Regions from separate parts of the Homo sapiens genome. Here regions 1, 2, 3, 4, 6 and 7 are each linked to region 5. The links are contacts of gene promoters, found by promoter capture Hi-C in blood cells and fetal thymus (Javierre and others, 2016). All regions are on one chromosome and are shown on one strand. The core of a region is centred on a gene start or on the middle of the fragment in contact, and the rest is flanking DNA. Distances in the headings are between cores, read along the strand shown.

Evidence for each region. Contacts are between HindIII fragments. The CHiCAGO score rates a contact against its expected background, and 5 or more counts as called.
Region 1: a contact is called between a fragment that was not itself captured here and the fragment with the promoter of SLC9B1 in region 5, in 15 of 17 cell types (M1 macrophages, M2 macrophages, M0 macrophages and 12 more). The highest score is 19.3, in M1 macrophages.
Region 2: a fragment that was not itself captured here is called in contact with the fragment with the promoter of SLC9B1 in region 5 in 14 of 17 cell types (M2 macrophages, total B cells, naive B cells and 11 more); the score reaches 11.2 in M2 macrophages.
Region 3: a contact is called between a fragment that was not itself captured here and the fragment with the promoter of SLC9B1 in region 5, in 17 of 17 cell types (M2 macrophages, M1 macrophages, M0 macrophages and 14 more). The highest score is 14.3, in M2 macrophages.
Region 4: a fragment that was not itself captured here is called in contact with the fragment with the promoter of SLC9B1 in region 5 in 16 of 17 cell types (M2 macrophages, M1 macrophages, neutrophils and 13 more); the score reaches 27.7 in M2 macrophages.
Region 6: a contact is called between a fragment that was not itself captured here and the fragment with the promoter of SLC9B1 in region 5, in 10 of 17 cell types (M2 macrophages, M1 macrophages, monocytes and 7 more). The highest score is 10.8, in M2 macrophages.
Region 7: a fragment that was not itself captured here is called in contact with the fragment with the promoter of SLC9B1 in region 5 in 8 of 17 cell types (naive B cells, M2 macrophages, total B cells and 5 more); the score reaches 9.3 in naive B cells.

What each region holds. Positions count from the first base shown.
Region 1 is chr4:102,684,790-102,688,126 of GRCh38, reverse strand. All of the region lies in intron 7 of MANBA (mannosidase beta), which reads left to right. Among named protein-coding and RNA genes, the nearest start is that of MANBA, 75 kb to the left of the region's middle. RefSeq lists an enhancer at 368-417. The HindIII fragment of the contact is 1,675 bases long and covers 1,197-2,871 here.
Region 2 is chr4:102,749,450-102,752,632 of GRCh38, reverse strand. The region is part of intron 1 of MANBA (mannosidase beta); the gene reads left to right. It also overlaps the pseudogene WDR12P1. Among named protein-coding and RNA genes, the nearest start is that of MANBA, 9.9 kb to the left of the region's middle. The HindIII fragment of the contact is 2,002 bases long and covers 379-2,380 here.
Region 3 is chr4:102,649,400-102,652,737 of GRCh38, reverse strand. It overlaps MANBA (mannosidase beta), which reads left to right. Exons shown (of 17, transcript NM_005908.4): 13 at 2,037-2,201. Among named protein-coding and RNA genes, the nearest start is that of MANBA, 110 kb to the left of the region's middle. The HindIII fragment of the contact is 1,776 bases long and covers 1,113-2,888 here.
Region 4 is chr4:102,665,776-102,668,860 of GRCh38, reverse strand. The region is part of intron 10 of MANBA (mannosidase beta); the gene reads left to right. Among named protein-coding and RNA genes, the nearest start is that of MANBA, 94 kb to the left of the region's middle. The HindIII fragment of the contact is 2,188 bases long and covers 501-2,688 here.
Region 5 is chr4:103,017,777-103,021,060 of GRCh38, reverse strand. It overlaps SLC9B1 (solute carrier family 9 member B1), which reads left to right and starts at 1,356. Exons shown (of 12, transcript NM_139173.4): 1 at 1,356-1,462. It also overlaps a transcript of SLC9B2 not described here. RefSeq lists an enhancer at 1,015-1,515. The HindIII fragment of the contact is 6,332 bases long and covers 721-3,284 here.
Region 6 is chr4:102,701,253-102,704,362 of GRCh38, reverse strand. The region is part of intron 5 of MANBA (mannosidase beta); the gene reads left to right. Among named protein-coding and RNA genes, the nearest start is that of MANBA, 58 kb to the left of the region's middle. The HindIII fragment of the contact is 2,952 bases long and covers 1-2,744 here.
Region 7 is chr4:102,730,489-102,733,596 of GRCh38, reverse strand. All of the region lies in intron 1 of MANBA (mannosidase beta), which reads left to right. It also overlaps the pseudogene LRRC37A15P. Among named protein-coding and RNA genes, the nearest start is that of MANBA, 29 kb to the left of the region's middle. The HindIII fragment of the contact is 8,823 bases long and covers 1-3,108 here.

The DNA.
Region 1 (3,337 bases), core at 785-3,284, 330 kb after region 5:
GTCATTCCAACTTACTACAGAGAAAGAAGAGGAACTTCTGTCTTTTTCTAAGGGAAATAATTCTTTTACATTCAGGCTAATATGACTGTATTATTGTTCATTACACATAAAGATGCCAGCCTTTGAATCGAGCAGCAACAGGAGTTTGCTTTAAGGAGGATGTTTAACTGCCCCACACCTTGAGTTAATGCATGTGTGTGAAATGTGCTCTTTGGCTGTGGCTGCCGTAGAGTTGCTATTTTTTGAGGCTGATTCATTCAGTAAATACTTAGGGCACACCTACTGTGTTTTGGCTATTTTGCTAGGTGCTGGTGATAGAGCTGTGACTAAGACACTGTTTCTGTTTCTCTCTGAGACCTTAGTAGAACTAATGATCTGATTGGGAAGTTCAATCATTAAATGAGCCATTGGAATATATTAGCACTCTAGAGATGTAGAGAGTGCCATGGAAGTGCAGAGCAGGGGCATTCTGGGAAGATTCCCAGAGCCTGTGTCCTGAGGGATAAGTAGAATTTGGCCAAGTAATGTAGCAAAGAGGCGGAGGGAAAAGAACGTGAAGGCCCAAGGACTAGAAAGGATGTTGTGTGTTTGCAGAAGTGAAAGAAATTTCAATGCAGTTGTGGTTGAGTTTGAAGTTGAAGAACAAGAGATGGTGTTGTAAAAGTAGCTAGGACAAAGTCCTGCAGGGCCTAGTGAGCCACGTGAAGGAAGAAGCACTGTCCTGAGTGCTGCCAGGATTCTTGGAAGGATTTTAAGGAGGGGGTAAGGATTATATGCATATTTTACAAAGATTGTGTAGATCAGATTGGAAGGATGGCAAGAGTAGGGGACCAGTTAGAAGACTGTGGTGGTGATTCAGACAAAAAATGAGGATTGGTTGGTCTACAGAACTGCTGAGGAAATAAATCTGAAAGAGATTTAGGATATAACCTCAGCAGGCTTGATGATGTGGGGGTGGGAAAAAAGAAGGAGTTAGGAATGGTTCCTCAGCTGCTGGTTTGGGCTGCTGAACAGGCAGCCTCTGAACAGGCAGGGCAACTCTGTTCATTGAGTTACATTACTCAGAAAGAAGAGAAGGTTTGGGGGAAGGGGTTGGGTGGAAATTATTTCAGTGTTAGATGTGTTTTGTGTGGGGTGATTGAGAGACACCCAAGGAATAATATTTGATAGGTGTTTCATTAGATAGATCTTAAGCTTAGGGATTGCATGTGGGTTAAGGATATAGATGTGTAAGTTAGCAGAATGTAGATAATTGTAGCCATGGTAGCGGATGAAATACCTCAGGGATGGCACAGAGAAAAGAGCTAGGACAGAACCCCAGGCAGTCATAATTAGTAAGGTTGGGGTTTGGGGAGAAGCCAGTAGAAGAATCTAAGAAGGAATGGTTGACGAGGTGGAGGGAAAACCAATTTGAGTGGGGAGTCACAGAAACCAGAGGGAAAGAGTGTTTTAAGAAGCAAAGAATGTTCAGAGTGTTGAATGCTGCAAGGGAGTTCAAGTTAGAAAAGAATTGAGAAAGATTCTTTAGATTTGGTGGCAAGGAGATTACTGGTCACCTTGATCAGCATGGAAATCAAATTGTAGTGGGTTGAGGAATGACTCAAGGTATGGAAGTAAAGACGGTGAATATAGGCAACTCTTCTGAAAGCGTCTGATTGGAAACTATGCTTAGACCAGGTGGTAATGGTGGCCAGTTGGGATCAGATTGGCTTCACATAGGCAACTGAACAAATAAGTAAATATATTGAAGTGGTGGAAGCCAGCCTTTTCATGAATGGAGAAAGGTGGTATCAACATAGAAGGGGGGAAAGCTACAGTGGATTCAAATTGGAGCTAATAGTATGAAGTTATGATTTTCAGTATGTGTAGACAGAGAAATAAATGTCTTTGTAAATGCATGTGTATGTGTGGGTAGACACACACACACACACACACATTTCCTAGTTCTTTTCACACATTTCCTAATCCTTTCTCAGAGCGCCTGGGAAGAGTGGCTCTCTAGTAGCAGTGAGTAGATTTAGGACCCATATGTTGATTTGGAATACCACTCTGTGCTGAAAGCAATCAGGGCTCTTTGGAGAAATGACTGATTCTCGAGCTGGAGCCTGAAATATCTTGCTGTTCCAGGAAGTAAGGAGGTACTCAATAATAATGTGACACATTGAAAGGACACAAGGGCCTTCAGTCTTCAGTCTTCAGTCTTCAATCTACTATAATCTTCAAAAATGTCAAGGAAAGATTGAGGAACTGTCCTACAGTGGAAGAGACTATGTACGAACTGGGTGCAGTGCAGTGATCTTTTTTGTCATAATGTTATTGGGGCAACTGATGAAAACTTGAATGGGGGGGTCTCTGGATTCTTTGTATTATATATAGGAGTTCTTTGTATTATTGTTGGAACTTTATTACAAGTTTGCAATGATTTCAACATAGAAAAGGATACCATTAAGAGAATGGAAAGCAACAGCAAAATCCTGATGGAAAGGGGCCAGTAGCGAGGGAAAGACTAAAAAGAGTTAGAAAGCAGGGAGGTAGTTGAGAGGGCAAGGTCTCTGGGAGGTAGGAGATAAGAAGAGGATGGATTCACTTTGGGATGGGGGGCTCTGTTTTCGTTGTAATAGTGGTGAAAGATAACACATGGGAGGAAAGGATGCAGCTTGAGGATGGAGGTAATTTTGAAGGTCTCTAGGACCATTTAAAGTATATTTTCTTTCTATAAGACTGGCAAACACTTTTGTCAGTGGAGTTTTAGGGTGAAAAAGTAAGCCTGAGAAAGAAAGCTAGGGAGTTTTGGTCAAACAACATTTTATTTTTTATTTATTGTGAAATATGACACATACAGAAAAATACACAAGCCATAAGTGAAAAGCTTAATGAATTATGAGAAAATGAACACTCAGGTAACTGTCAACATGTTCAAGAAACAGAACATTAATTACTAGCACTTCACACCTCAAACTCTCCCCTCCCTTCTGCGAGCCTCCCCAGTAATGACCCCTGTTTCCTTCCCGAAGATCCACTATCCTGACATCCATCACTAGGTTACTTTTGTCTCTTTTTGAATTTTATGTACATGGAACCATATAGCATGTATTTTTTAGTGTGTGGCTAATTTGGCTCAGCATTATGTTTTTGACATTTAGGTACAGTAGTGCCTCCTTATCTGTGGTTTCAGTTACCCATGGTCAACTGTGGTCTGAAAATAGTAAATGGAAAACTCCAGAAATAAGCAATTCATGAGTTTTAAATTGCTCACTGTTCTGTGTAGCATGATGGCATCTCGTGCTGTCCTGCCCTGTCTTGTCCAGGACATGAATCATCGCTTTGTTGAGCATAT
Region 2 (3,183 bases), core at 130-2,629, 270 kb after region 5:
CACATGGAAAGTGGTAGGTGAATATCTGTAGGAATACAATTTATTGTCTGCTTGTCCACTGAAAAGTAGCCCTGTGTCCCTATCCAGTCTACACTCAGAACTTTGTCTTCATGAGCAGCCAGATCATACAACTTCTTGTATCCCACAACTTGACAATGTTATCTAAAGATCCTGAAATCAGTTGCTGTTCATGGGTAGGAGACCATTTTACTAATGTCACGCAACCTGTATTTGAAGTTAGGGACAGTGACACCAAAGAATGGTCTTTAGTTCGGGGATCCCACAGTCTGGTATGCCTATCTGTGCTTCCAGATGCTAAACGTTTACAAAGTTGGAGAATGGGAAATACAATTAAGCACTTTATTTCCTGTCAAAGCTTGCCTTCAGACTGTCAGACTCAACATCCTACACTCTAATTGTATGGTCCCAAGATGCACTGCAGATTTCTTCAGCATCTGACCACAGAACTGAGGAAATTGCTTCCTTGTGACCAGAGAGGGTCACTATGGGAGTCATAGCTGCTCTGTGTTCTCTGTCGATTTGTGGATTCCTCCATTTCATCTTCTTCTTCTGTAGGGACTGTAGACCAGATCTTTAGCATCTTATCCCAGGAGCCACTACAAAATTTAGTTCCTGAGCTATCAACAGCTATAGACTCTGCACTTCCAGCATGACCTCTGCAGCACGGTCGGGCTTTCACTTTGTTTCTCTCTATTCCACTCCCATAAGAGAATAGTTGGATCCATAGAGGCACTCACAAATAAGCAAGACAAACTATCTTTTTTTTTGGCCCAGGCCACATCTTTTAAGACATCCCTATGTCCAACAATTGTCATTATTGACTTTCTTTCCAAGGACCGGATTTGAGAGGTCTTATCATAAGAACCAGTCAAGATCCATTCCTTTGCCCCTTTAACTGAAAGGATCCAGTCATCATGGAACATGCATTGCTCTGGCTGGGGTGCTGTGTACTTCACATATTCTATTTCCACAACTACTTCTGATGACATGTTCTCCAGTTCCATGTGTTTGACCAAGGACATTCGCAGAAACTGGCCCTTAATAAGGAAATAAAACTCCATATGTTTGTGGAACTCATTTTTGTCCTTTAGTAATTTATTGATGATGTTACTAAGGTCAGCAAATTCAGAGGCGGCAGGGATTGAGAAGGAAACATCATTTACAGCATATTTCTTGTTATCGGTGTAGAAATGTGTTTGGAGCTGAGCCAAGGCAAGGAGTACACACAAGACTTTTGGGTTAGTAGAGAGAGAATGGGAGCTCCTGTCTCTTAACTACAAAGAGGCCGCTCAAAATTAGACTGCACAGGTAAGCGAGAAGCTGCAGTCTAAGCCTGGACTCTGCTTTTCCTCCTTGGGTCTGCTCCACCCACAATCATTCTTTCTAAGGAGCCATGAGTCTGTCTATGGAGTCTCCAATCTGCAGGTTATCACTCATAAGTACATTCTAACAATATATGTGCATCAGTGTACATTCTACTTTTGTATTCTTTAAGTAGCAAATAAGCAGTTTCTATGTGAATTTTGTTAAACTTTGGGTGAATTTCAAACAAATAGTAAAATAGAGATACTTGCAAAATGAAATTTCATGTATCCATCACCTGGCTTCAACATGATCAATTCGTGGCTAATTTTGTTTCTTCTCTATCCACTATGCCATCCCTTATTATTTTGTTTTGTTATCATTTTTTTTGTTTTTTGAGATAGGGTATTACTCTGTCACCCAGGCTGAAGTGCAGTGGCGTGGTCATGGCTCACTGCAGGCTTAACCTCCTGGACTCAAGCTATCCTCCCACCTCAGCCTCCCAAGTAGCTAGGACTACAGGTACACACCACCATACCCAGCTAATTTGTTTCTTTTTTGTAGAGACAGAGTCTCCCTATGTTGCACAGGCTGGTCTCAAACTCCCAGGCTCAAGCGATATTCCCACCTCGGCCTCCCAAAGTGTAGGGATTACAGGTGTGAACCGCTGCTCCTGGCGCCCTTAGTATTATAAAGTAATCCCAGTTATCACATTATTTCATCCACAAACATTTCAGTATGGGTCTTTAAAAGATAGGGAGTTCCTTTTTCTTCAACATAACCACAGAACCATTATGACTTGTGAAATATTTTTGATGTGTTTCAGAGAAGAGAGTCCCATTATTATAATCCAAAATGACTAAACATACATTTTTTCTCAAAACAGAAGGTTTTCTGGTTGTTATACTAACCTTCCACAGAGATCTTAAGACTTGTAAGGATGAAATATTTGTTTGAATACTGAGAATGATAAAAAATGTTTTTTAAATAAAAAAAAAACTAAGGAAATATTTGGCTTTACGTGATCATTTTATGATGTGAAATGATCTCAAAAGCTTTTTAGGAAATGACCCTTTAAAGATATGTATGTCTTCTTCTAAAAGTTTGACTGACTTAAAGTAAAATTAAAAAAAAAAGTTTGACTGCTTCTATCAGGTGTGACATTAAGGAGATAAAATAGCTAATGACTCTGCATTTGAAATTTAATTTAAACAGAAATAGTCATCAATTAATAATGTTGCTCAATTTCTGGGAAGAGAGAAGTCCAAGGTTTTTAAGCCCTCATTTAAAAAAAACAGATAGTTTAAAAAATCCTGATCCTTAAACCTGGACATATACTTTCTTGTTTGATGCCACATGAGGTGTATTTAGGGTATGGGAGGATTTGCTTTGCGTGGCCCCGAACTGAAAATCAAAGGACCACCTGAGAGCTAAATTTTTAGGTAAGCGTTGGCTGGTCCTTATCATGTATAAGTATTAATGCATGTAGTCAGCCTATACAATTCATTTTCATGTAACATTTATTTTATGTCTTCCACGTGTGATGCACTTTTCTTGGCCCTTTCATGTGCACTTGTTCATATAATTTCAGCAACAACCCTCTGGAAAAGGTATAATAATTCACAGTGACTGAGGCTCAGCAAAGTTATTGCCTAAGATGATGCATATAATGGATGGTGGAGCAAGGATTCAAACCCCGATGTTCTTTTCACCATTGCACGCTGCCTATTGGCAGAAACAGTAAATAGTAAACAAATGGAACAGTTATTTTAATTTAAATGTGTCTGATGAAAATAGAGACATGAGTACAATATACTTTTGTTCAAAATATGCCACTAAAAGCACCCCATTTGCTAAAAG
Region 3 (3,338 bases), core at 751-3,250, 370 kb after region 5:
TTTTCTTTTTGTAGAGATGGGGTCTCACTACGTTGTCCAGGCTGGTCTTGAACTCCTGGGCTCAAGCAATCCTCCCACCTCAGCCTCCCAAAGTGCTGGGATTACAGGTGTGAAACACTGCATCCGGCCGGGTTTTTATGAGTACCAAATAAGTTAATATTCTTTTTTTAAAAAAAGTTAATATTCTTAAAGTAATTAGAACTTTGCCTGGCCATTTCCAGTTCTTTCTGGTAATATTATTATAGCTGAAATTTGAAAGATTTTCACACCATAGTTATGAGAAGGTAGAAAGCCTCCCACGTAACTAAAGATCAGGTTTACTGATTATGGGATAGATTCAAATTATTACAAATAAGAAGGCTGCATGGCCCAAAGGTATATTTCAGACTTTGAAAAGGAGGAAGGACACTCCAATGTGAAAGCTAAAAAAGTTCAGCTCAAAGAAGTAGAGTGGAATAATGATTACTAGAGGGTGGAAGGGTTGCCAGGGAGGGACAATAGAGTTGGTTAATTGATACAAAAGTATAGCTAGATGGGAAGAATAAGTTCTGGTGTTCTATAGCACTTTGGGGTAACTATAGTTAATAATAATTTATTGTATATTTTCAAATAGCTAGAAGAGATAATTTTGAGTGTTCCCGACACAAAGAAATGATAAATGTTTGAGGTGATGAATTTGCTTATTAGCCTGATTTGATCCTTATACATTGTATACATGTATCAAATTATAACATGGTACCCCATAAATGTGTACACTTATTGTGTCAATTAAAAATAATAAACATAAATAAAATAAATTAAGAGGAGGAAGCGTAGGAAGACTATTGATAAAGGATGTGTGTCTAAAAAGTGTGCGAGATGATTGTCAATGTGAATCTCTCCTTTAAATACATAATAGGAGTAGTTAGCATTATTTAATTCTGGTGGTGGCATTTTGGAAAAACATCTGTAATTAGGAAAAACTTCCAAATTTAATATGGCTAGTGTACATTTCTTATATTTGGGTATGAATCAGTTCCTGAAGGATAACCTTTTCCTTTTAAGGTAATGGGCCCATGTGTTGCTTGATTACTGGGAATGAAAAGTCATACTTTATGAACAGGGATTAAGCTTTTTTAATTTTCAGGTTTTTGGGTGGAGGGGCAGAGTATGTTTTTTCAAAGTCTGTGTAACTTGAATTAAAACTCTGGATATTTTCAGATGTAGCCAGCAATTGTCTTCTTTCTTAAATGCTAACAGTGCATTAAATTATAGGCCTAGAAGCCAGAATTATTGCTTTTTTCTCTTTTTTTGTAGAAGGTATACTCCAACATATGTGAGTTTTTTTTACTTTGTTTTTTAATTTGAGCTGACGACAAAAGAAAGATCCTGTAAGTTAGGGGATAAAATAAAGATCCTATAATTTGGGCCTGGCTTAAACCATAAAAAATTGATTTTTTAGGGGAGAGAAGTAACATTATTTGGTTTGTGTCTTCAACTATATAAAAATTAAACATATGTATATCAGTTTCATTTAGTAATCACTGAGAAACAAGTGAACAGTGTAAGTGCTAAAGCATCTACTCTCATAGTATCCCTATTATAGTGTAATAGGTGTTTTATTCCTATTTAAGAATTGTGACAGTTTTAACAGTGTTGATTGCATTCTATTAAGTTTTGACAAACGAATACTAGATAAAATGTTTACCTAAGTAGATAAAATGATATTTAAAAATACATATAGTGGATGTTTCAAAAACCAGGAATATGTTTTGATAAAACAAGAGTCTTAAGAGAAACATCAAAATATAACTTTCTTAGTTGGAGGAAGGGAGGATATATGTACCAAACCCTGGTTTTGTGATTCCAGTTTCCACAAGGCTAGTCCTTCACTGGCAACAAGTAGGATGGTAAAACATTTATGAAACTGGAGCCACAGAACAAACCTCAAGGTCTTCTCTAGTGTTTAGGATACTTTCCAGGTTTGTCAGGAACTTATAGAAAAGTAGTTTTACTGCCAACTTTCAGATTTCTAATTCTTATTCTTTATTTGAAAGGTCTCGTCTACAGAGGACTGGTCTTTCAATAGCAAGTTTTCACTTCATCGACAACATCACGAAGGTGGTAACAAACAAATGCTTTATCAGGCTGGACTTCATTTCAAACTCCCCCAAAGCACAGATCCATTACGCACATTTAAAGATACCATCTACCTTACTCAGGTAAGTTGTTTTCATTCTAGAATTGAACAGGTTCCTGCAATTAATGTAAGAGATTATGTAGATTTTGTAGGCCATATATGGTGAAAAATATTCAGGTTTTCATTCCACTGGTTAAGGAATTTATTTTCTTCAAAGAACATATATGATGACACATAGGACATGAAATAGTTCATTTTTGGCATTTGCCTCTCTTACAAAAACAGCTCACAAAATTCTGAAATAAATTGTGTATGAAAATATTCTCTACTTCAAGATTGCTCTAAAGGTTTAGTAATTAAGACAGTGCCATTTCCCAAGGATAAAATAGAACAATGGAACACAATAGAGTCCAGAAACAGATCACTGTATAATATGGACACCTGATTTATGGCTGTGATGCCACCACAATTGAGTATGAGAACAATCATTTTATCAATAAACAGTGGTGAATCACGTGGATACCTTTATGGGAAAAGAAATGAACTTGACTCCATATACAAGTTAATTTGATTGTTGAGCATGGTGGCACACACCTGTAGTCCCAACTACTTGGGAGGCTGAGGTGGGAGGATTGATTGAGCCTAGGAGTTTGAGACCAGCCTGGGCAAAATGTCAAGAACCCTATCTCTAAAAAATAATAATAAATTTTAGAAACTTCATTTGACCAATGACTGAAGACTCAAATGTGAAAGGTACTACAATAAAGCTTCGAGAAAACATGGAATAGCTTCATGATTTTGGGATAGGTGAGAGTTTTTATATAGAACATAAAAAGCACTAACTAGAAAAGAAAGTATTGATAAATTATACTCCATTGAAATTATGGACACCATTAAGTATAAAAAACACCATTAAGAGAGAGAAAAGGCAAGCCACAAATTGGGGACCAATAGTTTTAATTCATATATTTGATAAAAAGATTTGTATCCAGAATAAAGCAATAAGAAAAAGTCAGACAATCTATTTAAAAATGGACAAAAATCTTGAACTGGAGCTTCACTAAAGAAGATATCCAAAGCGTCAATAAATATCTGAAAATGTGCCCAATCTTGTTGTAAATCAAGAACATGCAAATTAAAGCCATACCAGTATACCCCTACACACCCAGCAGAATGGCTAAAATTAAAAAGATTGATAATAACAACTGCTGGTGAGGAA
Region 4 (3,085 bases), core at 345-2,844, 350 kb after region 5:
CCATGAAAAATTACACAGCCAGGTAATTGACATCCTAGGTGATTGTACCCAGTGTCATGGCTTTACCATCATCTATTGGCTGATGACTCCCAGATTTATCCCCAGTCCTGATTTCTCTGCTGAATTCCTCTTTCTTATATCCAACTGCCTACCTGGTGCCTCTGCTTGGAGGTTTAACAGGCATCTGAAATGTAACATGTACAAACTAAACTTATATTGCACCCCCTCCCCAATCTTGCTTCTTCTGAAGTTTTCTCCATCTCAGCAAACAGCAACACCACTGTTTGAATTGCTCAGGAGAAAGTTTAAATTGATTATTGATTCCTTGATTTATTTTAGATTCCACATATTGACATTTATATTTATATTCACAGATATATAAATGCAAGGAAGTGATTATATGCTTTCTCTGCCTACTGAAAAGATCTAGAAATAATGCCCAACGTTGTAGTGTTGAGTATTCTTATATTGAAGTAATCTTTCCTGTTAAGAGAAAAGCTTCTTAGAGAAATGGCCGACTCCAGGTCTGGCACAGGAAATATATAAAATGATCCTGGATATCTTCTTTTCACAAATGGCAATGGTGTTAATATAATATTATCAACTGATAATTTTAGCCACAGATCTGAGGTTTATGAGCTGTGTGCTGAATATACTTATTTTTGCAGCAAGGTCTGTTTAGGGGATGATCATGCTTTGAAACACAGATTGCATTATATTTCCTCTCCCCTAAATATTAAGTGCATGGCATGGGTTTCCATGTAGAATCAGAGTGGGATGCTTGTCAATACATGAAAATTCTGAATTATGATGTACTCCCAAAATACAGTTTAGAAACCAACTTGTGAGTGTATCATATGCTAGTAAAATACTACTGAAACATCGGACTGATTCATTAGCATCCATTGGAAATGATCACTGCACCAGGAGATCACCCCTACCTTGTAAAGAGTTTGCAAGACTGTGGAGACATATTGAGTTTTTATAGTGCTCTGCAACATGTTAAAGAAGGAAACAAATCCATTTTCTCGGTAACCTCAGGTAAAGCTACAATGTGGATAATTATTGACTCTGATTTCAATTTCTCATGTCCAACTGTCTGCCAGATTTTTTGTAATGTTGATATACAAAGAACAAATATTTTGATATTTCTTCTTGAATGGTGAGTCTGCAACCTTAGGGAGGTCACTTTACCTCTTGAGCCTCAATTTCTGTATCTATAACTCTAGTATGATGTCACTCCTCATGAAACTGTTTCAAAAATTAAATAGGATAATACGTGTAAGTCATGCAGTTCAAAAGAAATAACAAATAATAGCAGCTGTCACACTAACTCAGCGTGTCTTCAAAGTACATCTATTATCTTTTCCCCAGTGCACTCTTTCAAGATTTTTCTTTTTAGCAGGAAATATGAAAGTCATTGATACTTTCTTCTTTCTCACCTCCCACATCCATCTGGTTTTAAGTTGAGACAATTTTTTGATATCAATGTTACTAGTATTTGTATTTACTTTCTCACCCCCGTGCTTACTACTCTAATTCAAATCCTATTTTTCCCTCTCCTCAATCATTGCATTTGTTTTCTGATTGGACTCCCTAGCATTGGTCTCTTTCAATATGTGCATACTCAACAGAGCTGCCAAAGTCATCTTCCACTGACACATTTTAAGTCATACCACATTCCTGCTCAGAACCCTGATCCTGGAATATCTCAACATGCAGATAACAAGGAAGCTATCAAAGTTATGTCAAAAGGATTTTGAGAGACTCTGAACAACCAAAAGGGGGACAATTTGAGATTCAATAAAGATAAGGATGTCAATGAATTGAATCCATCAAGTGTGTTAAAATCTAGAGTTCATATTATAGTGTCTGCAGATGTATATTTTGTGAAAAACCATACAGAAATGCAAGGAAGCGATTTCTATTACACTATGATACTCTAGATAGTGGTTACTTTTGGAAGGAGGAAGGGGCTGTGATTAGGAAGAGGCACGTGGATGGCTTCCGGCCTGGCTGCACTGGGTGGTGGCTACAAGGGTGATTGCCTTATGATAATTGACCGTGTCATAATTTGTTTTCTGTAACTGTGTTTCATTTTAAAATAAAAGGTTTAAAAAGTACAATCGAACTCCTTCCCTAGCCAACACTTCCCCTGAGGTGGCTTCTTGACCTCTGGGTAAGGTGTAAGATCCTCTTAATGCGGGACTCCGGCCAGCTGGTGTCTGCACCTGTTCAGGCACCATCTCCATCTTGCTGTCTATGTCCTGGAACATCTTCCCCATCCACTGCCCTTGTGAGCCACCTCCTTTGTTCTCCTTTGGCCCCTCTTACCTTAAGCATGGGAAAAATCTTTTGCCTTTTGAGACACACATCACACTTTGAATTACTTGTTCAAGGATTTGTCACCTCTGCAAGATTGTCATCTCCCTGAGGCCTAGGACTCATTCCCCTCTGCGTCCCCACTCTGTGGATTATTCACAAAGTGGATAGATGAATGGATGAATGAATAACTGTAAACATATTAATTGTAGTTACACAGGTTGCAAGCATTTCAGTTTTATTTTTAGTTTTCTTTCGTATAAATAATTAAAATCTAACATTTATGTATCTTCAGTTCTTTGATGCATTATTAAAGATAAGGAGAGCCATTGCATGCAAAGTTTGTTAAAATTTTAAAGTAAAGCTTACCATAAAACTCTAAGTCAGCTTGAGGGTTGTGTGTAACACGGTGCTACTGAAGCTTTTTGCCACTTCAGGATTTATATTTGTATTTTCATCAGTGGCATAAATATGTCAGTCACAGTTGGTAGCAGCTGTCCCTTTCTTGGGCATGTACAAAGACAAAAAAAGGAAATAGTGTTTATATGGCTGGCTGAGAAAAACACAAGACTTAATTTTTTTAAAAATGAAATATATCTCTTTAATATACCTTCAGTGCATCTCTATTTCATCTATGTGAGTTTCTGAGCTTCTTGAATGGAGAACACATTGAGAGCATCAGTGGGGGGCAATCAGTGTAATCATGCATCACAGCGAAGGTGAACCTATAAATATCAATGAGGTAACATTGCCAAAACATGTT
Region 5 (3,284 bases), core at 107-2,606:
AGTACAAAACATTTCCTTAACCCTATAATCATGAAACCCTGTCTACTCTCCTGAAACGAGGAAGAAAAATAAATCCTTGCTGAGATGTCTATAACACGTTGAAGGAGGGAAGGTGTTAAAAACAATAAAAAGGGCAGGGCTGTGGTGGCTCACGCTTGTAATCCCAGTACTGTGGGAAGCCAAGACGGGCAGATCACTTAAGTCCAGGAGTTCAAGTCCTCCTGGGCAATATGTGAAACTCCTCTCTACTAAAAATACAAAAATTAGCCGGGGGTAGTGGTGCCCACCTGTAGTCCCAGCTACTCAGGAGGCAGGAGGATCGCTTGAACCAAGGAGGAGGAGGCTGCAGGGAGCCTAGATCGCACTGCACTCCAGCCGGGGTAATAGAGTGAGACCCTGTCTCAACAACGTCAACAAAACCAATAAAAAGATAATTTCGTATTTAAGTTACCCAAGAAGGAACGGTAATTTGGATCAGATCTTAGATGATGACTAAGAAAAAGAACACTCCGGTAGAGGAATTAACTTTACAGAACGCACTGAGGCAAAAAGGAATACAGTGTTCAAGAGTAAACATTGAGTGTCAGGAGAAACATTAGATAGGAAAGGGCAGTTTGTCTTTCTAAGAAGTTTACACTTTCTCCAATAACAGTTGTTTTTGTCTTTTATAGGAAGCGCGGATTCTATTACTGGAAACTTTGGGACTGAAAGGCCAAAGCTTCTGGGCCCACCATCAACGCAGCTCCGCTTTCATTTCTTTCACATACAACTTTCCACATAAGATTTCATGCGGAAAAAAAAAAAAAACTCACAAAGGTTTTATACTGATAACAGTATATTAAGTGTTTACTTTGTACACAGCGTCTTTGTTCCAGACACTTGCCATGTCTCATTTATTCTCACACCACCACCACAGCGTCCTTTACAGATGAGAAGACAACCTCAGGGAGACGATGTATTTGCCTAGGTCCCATAGCTAGCAAGTGACAGCGCTGCAGTTTAAGCTCAGGCCGTCTTGGGGAGAGACCGTGCTCTTCTACCATTGCACTTTAAGCTGACTTTAGGGGAAACACAATCTGAGTTTTGACAAGTTTACTTCTGGCACATGCAGTCCCGAGCACTGCTTTTTGGCTAAAATGCCCAGTGATGTCAACTCTGTCCCTGGATTTCTACAACCCGATGAGTCAATATTCAGAAGAGACGTCGAAAGGAAAGGGTTCAATAGACAGAAAACACACCAGACAGTCCCAGAAACCCCAGAACCCTCGCCTCTGCCGGCGCGGACAGCCAAGACGTCACTTAAACGCGCTGCCGCCTCCTCGCCCCGCCCCGCCCCTGCGCGGAAGTCTATCCGGGCTTTCGCGTCACCACCCTGCCCACCTGGGTGGCGCGTGGCTTACGCAACGGTCACTGGGCTCCTGGGCCGCTCCCGGGCCAGCGAGGGCTGCGAAAGAAGTTGTAGGTACGGCCCATTTTTCTTAACGCCGCCCTTCCAAGCCCTTTGGCGCTAGTCCCGGGTCTGCCGCGATCGTTTCCTTGCGGTAGGCCGCAGGAGGGCCTTTCCTCCCCCTCAGTTCAATGGGATTCTTGGGCTCTTCTCCCAGACGCTGAGGGAACAGCCACAGACATTGTCTCTCCTCTCCGTGACTCCTTTCCTTACTCCGTCATCCCACATCTCTCTTGTTTGTTCTCTTTTCCTCCTGTTTTTCTTATTTTACAAATACTCGCCAGTAAGAAAGAAGAGATCTGTCAGTTAAGATTGACCTCAAAATTAATTTTATTAAGCGTGTACTATTTTACAAACGGTGGATCCCTGCAAATAAACCTTCACATACATGCTCCTGCGACTGGAGATTCTGGGATTGGTTGCCGATCCTGAGAAAGCTCTCTTCCCCCACCCACCCACATCCACGCCCCTTAATCCTGTTTACTCCTCTTGGCTTTAACCCAGGGGACAAGCACTTCCAGCAGTCCCCAACCTTTTTGGCACCAGGGATCAGTTTCATGGAAGACAGTTTGGGGTGGGGGGCAAGATGGGATGACACTCTTCTATCTCAGATCATCAGGCATTAGATTCTCTTGAGAAGGCGCAATTTAGATCCCTCACATGCGCAGTTCATAATCAGGTCTGTGCTCCTATGAGAATCTAATGCCTTTGCTCATCTGACAGGAGCTGGAGCTCAGGCATAATCCTCTAGCCCTGCTCACCTGCTGTGTGGCCTGTTCCTAATAGGCCACAAACCTGTACCTGTCTGCTGCCCAGGGGTTGGGGATCCCTGCTTTAGACCAGTGCTTTTGAAGGAAAAAGGAAAGTTGCACACATACTGTGTCTGTCACATCAATCAGTAGTGTTACAAGAGCTCTTCACGGGACCATACCAGGTCCCTCACTCCCCCTCTATGGGTGTCCTAGAGCCTGTGAAATAACAGATTTGGTGATGTGGGGAGACAACTGGCCCAGGTGGCACTGAGGGAGGCCACACCCCACTCTCTGATTTTCCTTAGAGATAAATATAATTATGTGTGCAACAGAAGCATGAAAAATGACACTTATTATTGTCACCCCTAGAGAATTCATGCCCCAAATATTTTAGTCACTGTGTGCCTATGAAAAGGGCATTCATAGGTATTGTCCCCTGTGAGTACCAGAATTTTTTTTAACTTACTTTTTAAAATTCTATACAGATTTAGTTAGTACAAGTTCAGTTTTGTTGTGTGGATATATTGCACAGTGGTGAAGTCTGGGCTTTTAGAGTACCAGAATTTATACTGCTGTTTTTCAGTTGGCTCTTGTCATAAGGTCCTGCCAATTACTAGACACAAGGAAATAGGTGGGTGCTATAGTTGTAACATATAAAGTATCGTTTTTATAGTACTTCTCATTTTGTACTTATTTTTGTACTCATCCTGTTTAAACACTTCTGTTGGTTAACCAAATCCCATGTTACTGTGGTGTTTACTAAACACTGAGATTGAATAGTACCTGGAACATAGTGTAATATATGTTCAATAAATATTTTTTGAGGGAATGAATGGATGAGCTTCTGAAGAAGCCATACCTTAGCCACTTTTGTTTTTCCTGGATCCAGAGCTTAGTCTAGCAGTAGTAAACTCACCAGTGTGAGTTAAGTAGAGAAGTCAAGTGACTTGCTTAGGGAAAGGCATTCATTAAGTATTTTTTAAAGAATATCCTACTTTGTCAGGCGTTGTTTTAGGCATTGTGAATACAATGGTAAGAAAGACTAGCAAGATCGCTGTTCTTATGAAGTTTAAATTCTAGTGAGT
Region 6 (3,110 bases), core at 19-2,518, 320 kb after region 5:
TACAAAAAATAAAAAAAATTAGCCATGTGTGGTGGTATATGCCTGTAGTCCCAAGTATTCGGAGGCTGAGGTGGGATTATAACCGCCCAATAAATTCACCTTGCCTGCTGCCTAGACAGAGCTGATTTATCAAGACAGGGGAATTGCAACGGAGAAAGAGTAATTCAGGCAGAGCTGGCTGTGTGAGAAACCAGAGTTTTATTATTACTCAAATCAGTCTCCCCAGACGTTCAGCATTTGGGATCAAATTTTTTGGTTTTTTTTTTTCGAGATAGAGTTTTGCTCTGTTACCCAGGCTGGAGTGCAGTGGCGCGATCTTGGCTCACTGCAACCTCCACCTCCCAGGTTCAAGTGATTCTCCTGCCTTAGCCTCCCGAGTAGCTGGTACTACAGGTGTTCGACACCACGCCTGGCTTATTTTTTGTATTTTTGGTAGAGATGGGGTTTCACTGTGTTAGTGGGGATGGTCTTGATCTCCTGACCTTGTGATCCACCCGCCTCAGCCTCCCAGAGTGCTGGGATTACAGGCGTGAGCCACCATGCTGGGTGGGATCAGAGTTTTTAAAGATAATCTGGTGGGTAGGGGCTTGCAAAGTGGGGAGTGCTGATTGATCAGGTTGGAGATGGAATCATAGGGGGAACGAAGTAAGGTTTTCTTGCTGTCTTCTTTCCTGAGTGGGATGGCAGAACTGGTTGAGCCAGATTACCAGTCTGGGTGGTGTCAGCTGATCCATCCAGTGCAGGGTCTGCAGAATATCTCAAGCACTGATCTAGGTTTTACAATAGTGATGTTATCCCCAGGAGCAATTTGGGGAGGTTCAGACTCTTGGAGCCAGAGGTTGCATGACCCCTAAACTGTAATTTCTAATCTTGTAGCTAATTTGTTAGTCCTGCAAAGGCAGACTCGTCCCCAGGCAAGAAGGGGTCTTTTCGGGAAAGGGCTGCTATCCATTTTGTTTCAGAGTCAAACCATGAACTGAATTCCTTCCCAAAGTTAGTTCAGCCTACTGCCAGGAATGAATAAGAACAGCTTAAATGTTACAAGCAAGATGGAGTAGATTAGGTCTGATTTCTTTCATTGTCATAATTTCCTCAGTTATAACTTTGCAAAGGCAGTTTCAGGAGGATTACTTGAGCCTGGGAGGTCAAGGCTGCAGCGAGCTATGATTATTCCACTGTATTCTGGCCTGGGTGACAAAGCAAGACCCTGTCTCAAAAACAAACAAACAAGTAAACAAACAACAACTAATGCAAACAGTAGCTATCTCTGTAGTAGTGTTAAAAATGGTTTGCATTTTATTCTTCTGTGTAACTGTCTTTTCTAAATTTCTATATTGGGCATCTGTTATATATATGTATATGCAGTAAGTGGATAAAGTAGTTATTAAAACAAACTAATTTAGTCTAGTAACTTCAGCTAACTTGATATGAAAGCCTAAACTAATTTGTCTATGGGACACTTTCTGCCTTCCCCCTGTTGAGGCTAGAAAGAGATACTGTCATCTTTGTGCTTTTTCAAGTGTTCAATTTATATCTTGACTTAAAATTAGTGAGTTTACTCCTGAAGATCAAAGGACCAACCATAGTTCCCTAACTTGTGTATGACAGAAAGAAGGCTATTAAACATTTAAAAATTAACGTGAAATTCTTGTGAATTCATTTACTTATATATATGTATATATCTATGTTTCTTTTCTGTATTCTTAGTCCTTAAAAATAGTGGTTTCTACAGGGTCTGGAGTGGACCTCTAGCAAACTCCAACAGACCTGCAGCTGAGGGTCCTGTCTGTTAGAAGGAAAACTAACAAACAGAAAGGACATCCACACCAAAAACCCATCTGTACATCACCATCATCAAAGACCAAAAGTAGATAAAACCGCAAAGATTGGGAAAAAACAGAGCAGAAAAACTGGAAACTCTAAAAAGCAGAGCACCTCTCCTCCTCCAAAGGAACGCAGCTCCTCACCAGTAATGGAACAAAGCTGGACGGAGAATGACTTTGACAAGTTGAGAGAAGAAGGCTTCAGGCGATCAAACTACGAGCTACAGGAGGAAATTCAAACCAAAGGCAAAGAAGTTAAAAACTTTGAAAAGAATTTAGACGAATGTATAACTAGAATAACCAATACAGAGAAGTGCTTAAAGGAGCTGATGGAGCTGAAAACCAAGGCTCGAGAACTACGTGAAGAATGCAGAAGCCTCAGGAGCCGATGCGATCAACTGGAAGAAAGGGTATCAGTGATGGAAGATGAAATGAATGAAATGAAGCGAGAAGGGAAGTTTAGAGAAAAAAGAATAAAAAGAAACGAACAAAGCCTCCAAGAAATATGGGACTATGTGAAAAGACCAAATCTACGTCTGACTGGTGTACCTGAAAGTGACGGGGAGAATGGAACCAAGTTGGAAAACACTCTGCAGGATATTATCCAGGAGAACTTTGCCAATCTAGCAAGGCAGGCCAACATTCAGATTCAGGAAATACAGAGAACGCCACAAAGATACTCCTCGAGAAGAGCAACTCCAAGACACATAATTGTCAGATTCACCAAAGTTGAAATGAAGGAAAAAATGTTAAGGGCAGCCAGAGAGAAAGGTCAGGTTACCCACAAAGGGAAGCCCATCAGACTAACAGCGGATCTCTCAGCAGAAACTCTACAAGCCAGAAGAGAGTGGGGGCCAATATTCAACATTCTTAAAGAAAAGAATTTTCAACCCAGAATTTCATATCCAGCCAAACTAAGCTTCATAAGTGTAGGAGAAATAAAATCCTTTACAGACAAGCAAATGCTGAGAGATTTTGTCACCACCAGGCCTGCCCTAAAAGAGCTCCTGAAGGAAGCACTCAACATGGAAAGGAACAACCGGTACCAGCTGCTACAAAATCATGCCAAAATGTAAAGACCATGGAGACTAGGAAGAAACTGCATCAACTAACGAGCAAAATAACCAGCTAACATCATAATGACAGGATCAGATTCACACATAACAATATTAACTTTAAATGTAAATGGACTAAATGCTCCAATTAAAAGACACAGACTGGCAAATTGGATAAAGAGTCAAGACCCATCAGTGTGCTGTATTCAGGAAACCCATCTCCCATGCAGAG
Region 7 (3,108 bases), core at 348-2,847, 290 kb after region 5:
TAGAGCTAAGGATTTTGAGACCAGCCTTGGCAACATAGTAAGATCTCCATCTCTACAAAAAAATAAAAATAAAAAATTAGCTGGGAGTGGTGGCATACATCTGTAGCCCCAGCTCCTCAGGAGGCTGAGCTGGGAGGGTTGCTTGAGCCCCGGAGGTTGAGGCTGTAGTGAACCATGGTTGTGCCACTGCACTCCAGCCTGGGTGACAGAGCAGAGCAAGACCTGTTTCAAAAAAAAAAAAAAAAAATGCAGAGAGGACTTCCTTACTCAGGTGAACAGGAATCTCAAGTTTTCAGGAAAAACTGCCCTGTTTGTGGATCTACCTCCTTCGTTAAAGTTTCAGTTTGATTAAGTGGTACTTAGCATGAGTGACTGTTTTGGTTTGATCTGGTCTGCTGAGGCCTAGTATAGGAGCTCAGTCAACAACGGCCTCCTGTAATTTTTATTTAACATCCAGAATGACATATAGTTGAAATCATACATTATTTAGGTTTTTCAGATTGGCCTCTTTAAGATAAAATTTTAACCTATAAATTATGTTTGTGTCGAAAAAATATATCTGGGAAGATTGCCCTCTTGAACCAACTTGCAGATTCCTTCAGGGAGCTGGGAGAAAGGAAGGGGACTTGTGCCCCGTCAACCAGATCATCAGCCAGCCCCCGGGCTTAGTGTGTTGATGTGTTGTGGCTGAATTGCTCTCACACCTTCCTTCTCATGATATTTTTAACTGTATTGGACTAAGTCCACAGTGTAGAGTTATAAATAGGTCTTGGGGGAATGACATGGTCATGCTAATAATTAGGTGCCTCTTCAACCCTGTGTCTGTAAATATGTGTTCCATGTTTGTTCATTGGAGAGGCCGAGTCCTGTGTGGGAGATAAGTTGGCTGGGCTTGGCACACGGCATTTAACAGAACAAAACCTTACCATTAACCAGACCTTAAAAGCCAGTTTGGTGATTACGTGTTGTTTTAAATCTCATCAGTCACTCTCTCCTCTAGTAGCTTATCAAAATATTTCTTCCAGTTTGGATCAGTTTCTGGCAGATACCTATCTTGATCTTGATACACTCCCACTGATGTTGTAGTGCTTCTTACAGATTTGCCCTGGGCAACTGCCTAACTGGCCATTGCCAGCCTAACGTGTTCATCTGGCTCTTACCTGTGTGGAACTTAGACAGAGTTGGCTTTTCCTTCTTGACTTGGAGTTACGGTCCCTAAGGAAATAACTTGGATCTGTCCCTGACAAAGGAGGGGAAGCCCCTCCATGCCTGCACAATTCCCTTCTATATATTGTTCATGGATAGATGAACTGAAAAGATTTGTTTGCCACTTTCTGTTCTGCCTCCTGTCTTGAGTATTCCTCTGGGAGATAAAGAGTGGAAAGAGTCCAGATGCGGTGGCTCATGTCTGTAATCCCAGCACTTTGGGAGGCTGAGACAGGCAGATCACCTGAGGTCAGGAGTTCGAGACCAGCCTGACCAACATGGTGAAAACCCATGTCTACTAAAAACACACAAAAAATTAGCCAGGTGTGGTGGTGCATGCCTGTAATCCCAGCTACTTGGGAAGCTGAGGCAGGAGAATCGCTTGAACCTGGGAGGCTGAAGTTGCAGTGAGCTGGGATTGCGCCATTACACTCCAGCCTGGGCAACAAGAGTGAAACTCCATCTCAAAAAAAAAAAGTGTAAAAAGAGTGGAAAGGGGGTAGGAGAAGAAAGACTTAAGGATTTATGAAGAGGCAGACTTGGGTCTAGACACTCAGATGGAGCAACATCTATGAACATCTAGGAGGCCAGTCATCTTGGGCAGGGGTTAGCAAACACGTTCAGTAAATAGCTAAATACTAAATATTTTAGACCTCGAGGGCCAGATGGTCTCCATCATGTCTACTCAACTCTGCCACTATAGCACCAAAGCAGCCATATGTAAATTGCAAAGGAAAGGGCATGGCTGTGCTCTAGTAAAACTTTATTTATGGGCACATGTCCATTCTTACTTAGCTTGCTAGCCACACAGAGACATGTAGTGAGCTGAATGTGGCCTGTGGGTGGCAGTTTGCTGACCTGAGGTAGGATAATATAAGAAACCTGATGTTAATAAGTTTTGAAGTATCTCTGCTGCCTGTGTATTCTCTGTAGAGATCCTTTTCATGCTCACTTAGCTAAGTGAAAAATAACTGGAAATGCTAAGTGAATCCAATGAGCGGAAGGGAGTTGTGCTGACTTTTGGGCAGTAGAGAAGTATTCCCCCTGGAGGCTGGCTGGGATAGTGGCGCAAACAGCACAGTGAGAACCACAGGGCAATGAGAGACTGCTGGCTACACACCACAGATTCAGTCTTTCATTCTCTGCTGATACTGGTGGTTTTGTGTTTGGTTTTAAAAGGGGAAGCCAATCTTTTTTTTTTTTTTAATTCTTTCAGCAAGGCAATTTACTTCTGCAGAAGGGTGCCACTTGCGTCAATCAAGATCGCAAGAGCACAGAGAACAAAGGAGACCAGGGGGTTTTTATCCTCAACGCAGTCCCTATCTCTGTGCTACTCCCCCTTGGGCTGGGGTTGGACTGCACAGTTTGAGCTGACCCAATTGGCTACTTGTACATATTTTTTTAAATATAGAAGGGGAGGGGGACAGAGGTGGAGCGTGTGAGATGTGCAGTTTCAGGGGAACATGGGGTGCAGGTAACCAAGGGAACAGATGTGAGTTATTGATTAGAGCTGACGGGAAGCGGGTAGGCTGTTTATGGTAACTAGGCGCAAGGAAGAACAAGATAGTTGAGTTTGAGGACAAAGTATAAGGAAATTAACAAGCTAAACCCTATAAGAGAAACTCAGAAAGACTTATTGTGTCTTACCTGACAGTTGAAGAAGCATCTATCTGTAGGGAATCCAGAAGGAGCGTTCATGAAGGTATTACAAGCCCGGAAGAAGCACACGAGCACTGAGCTGACTACTGAGCTGGAGGCGGCCTCAGACAGCAATGGCATCAACTTGTCAGGCTTTGGGAGTGAGCAGCTAGACATCAATGACGCACTAAATTACGTCTTGCCTTATTTCTCATAGAAAAATCTATAAGATGTAGAATCAATGTTGTTACTGTTAGGGACGAG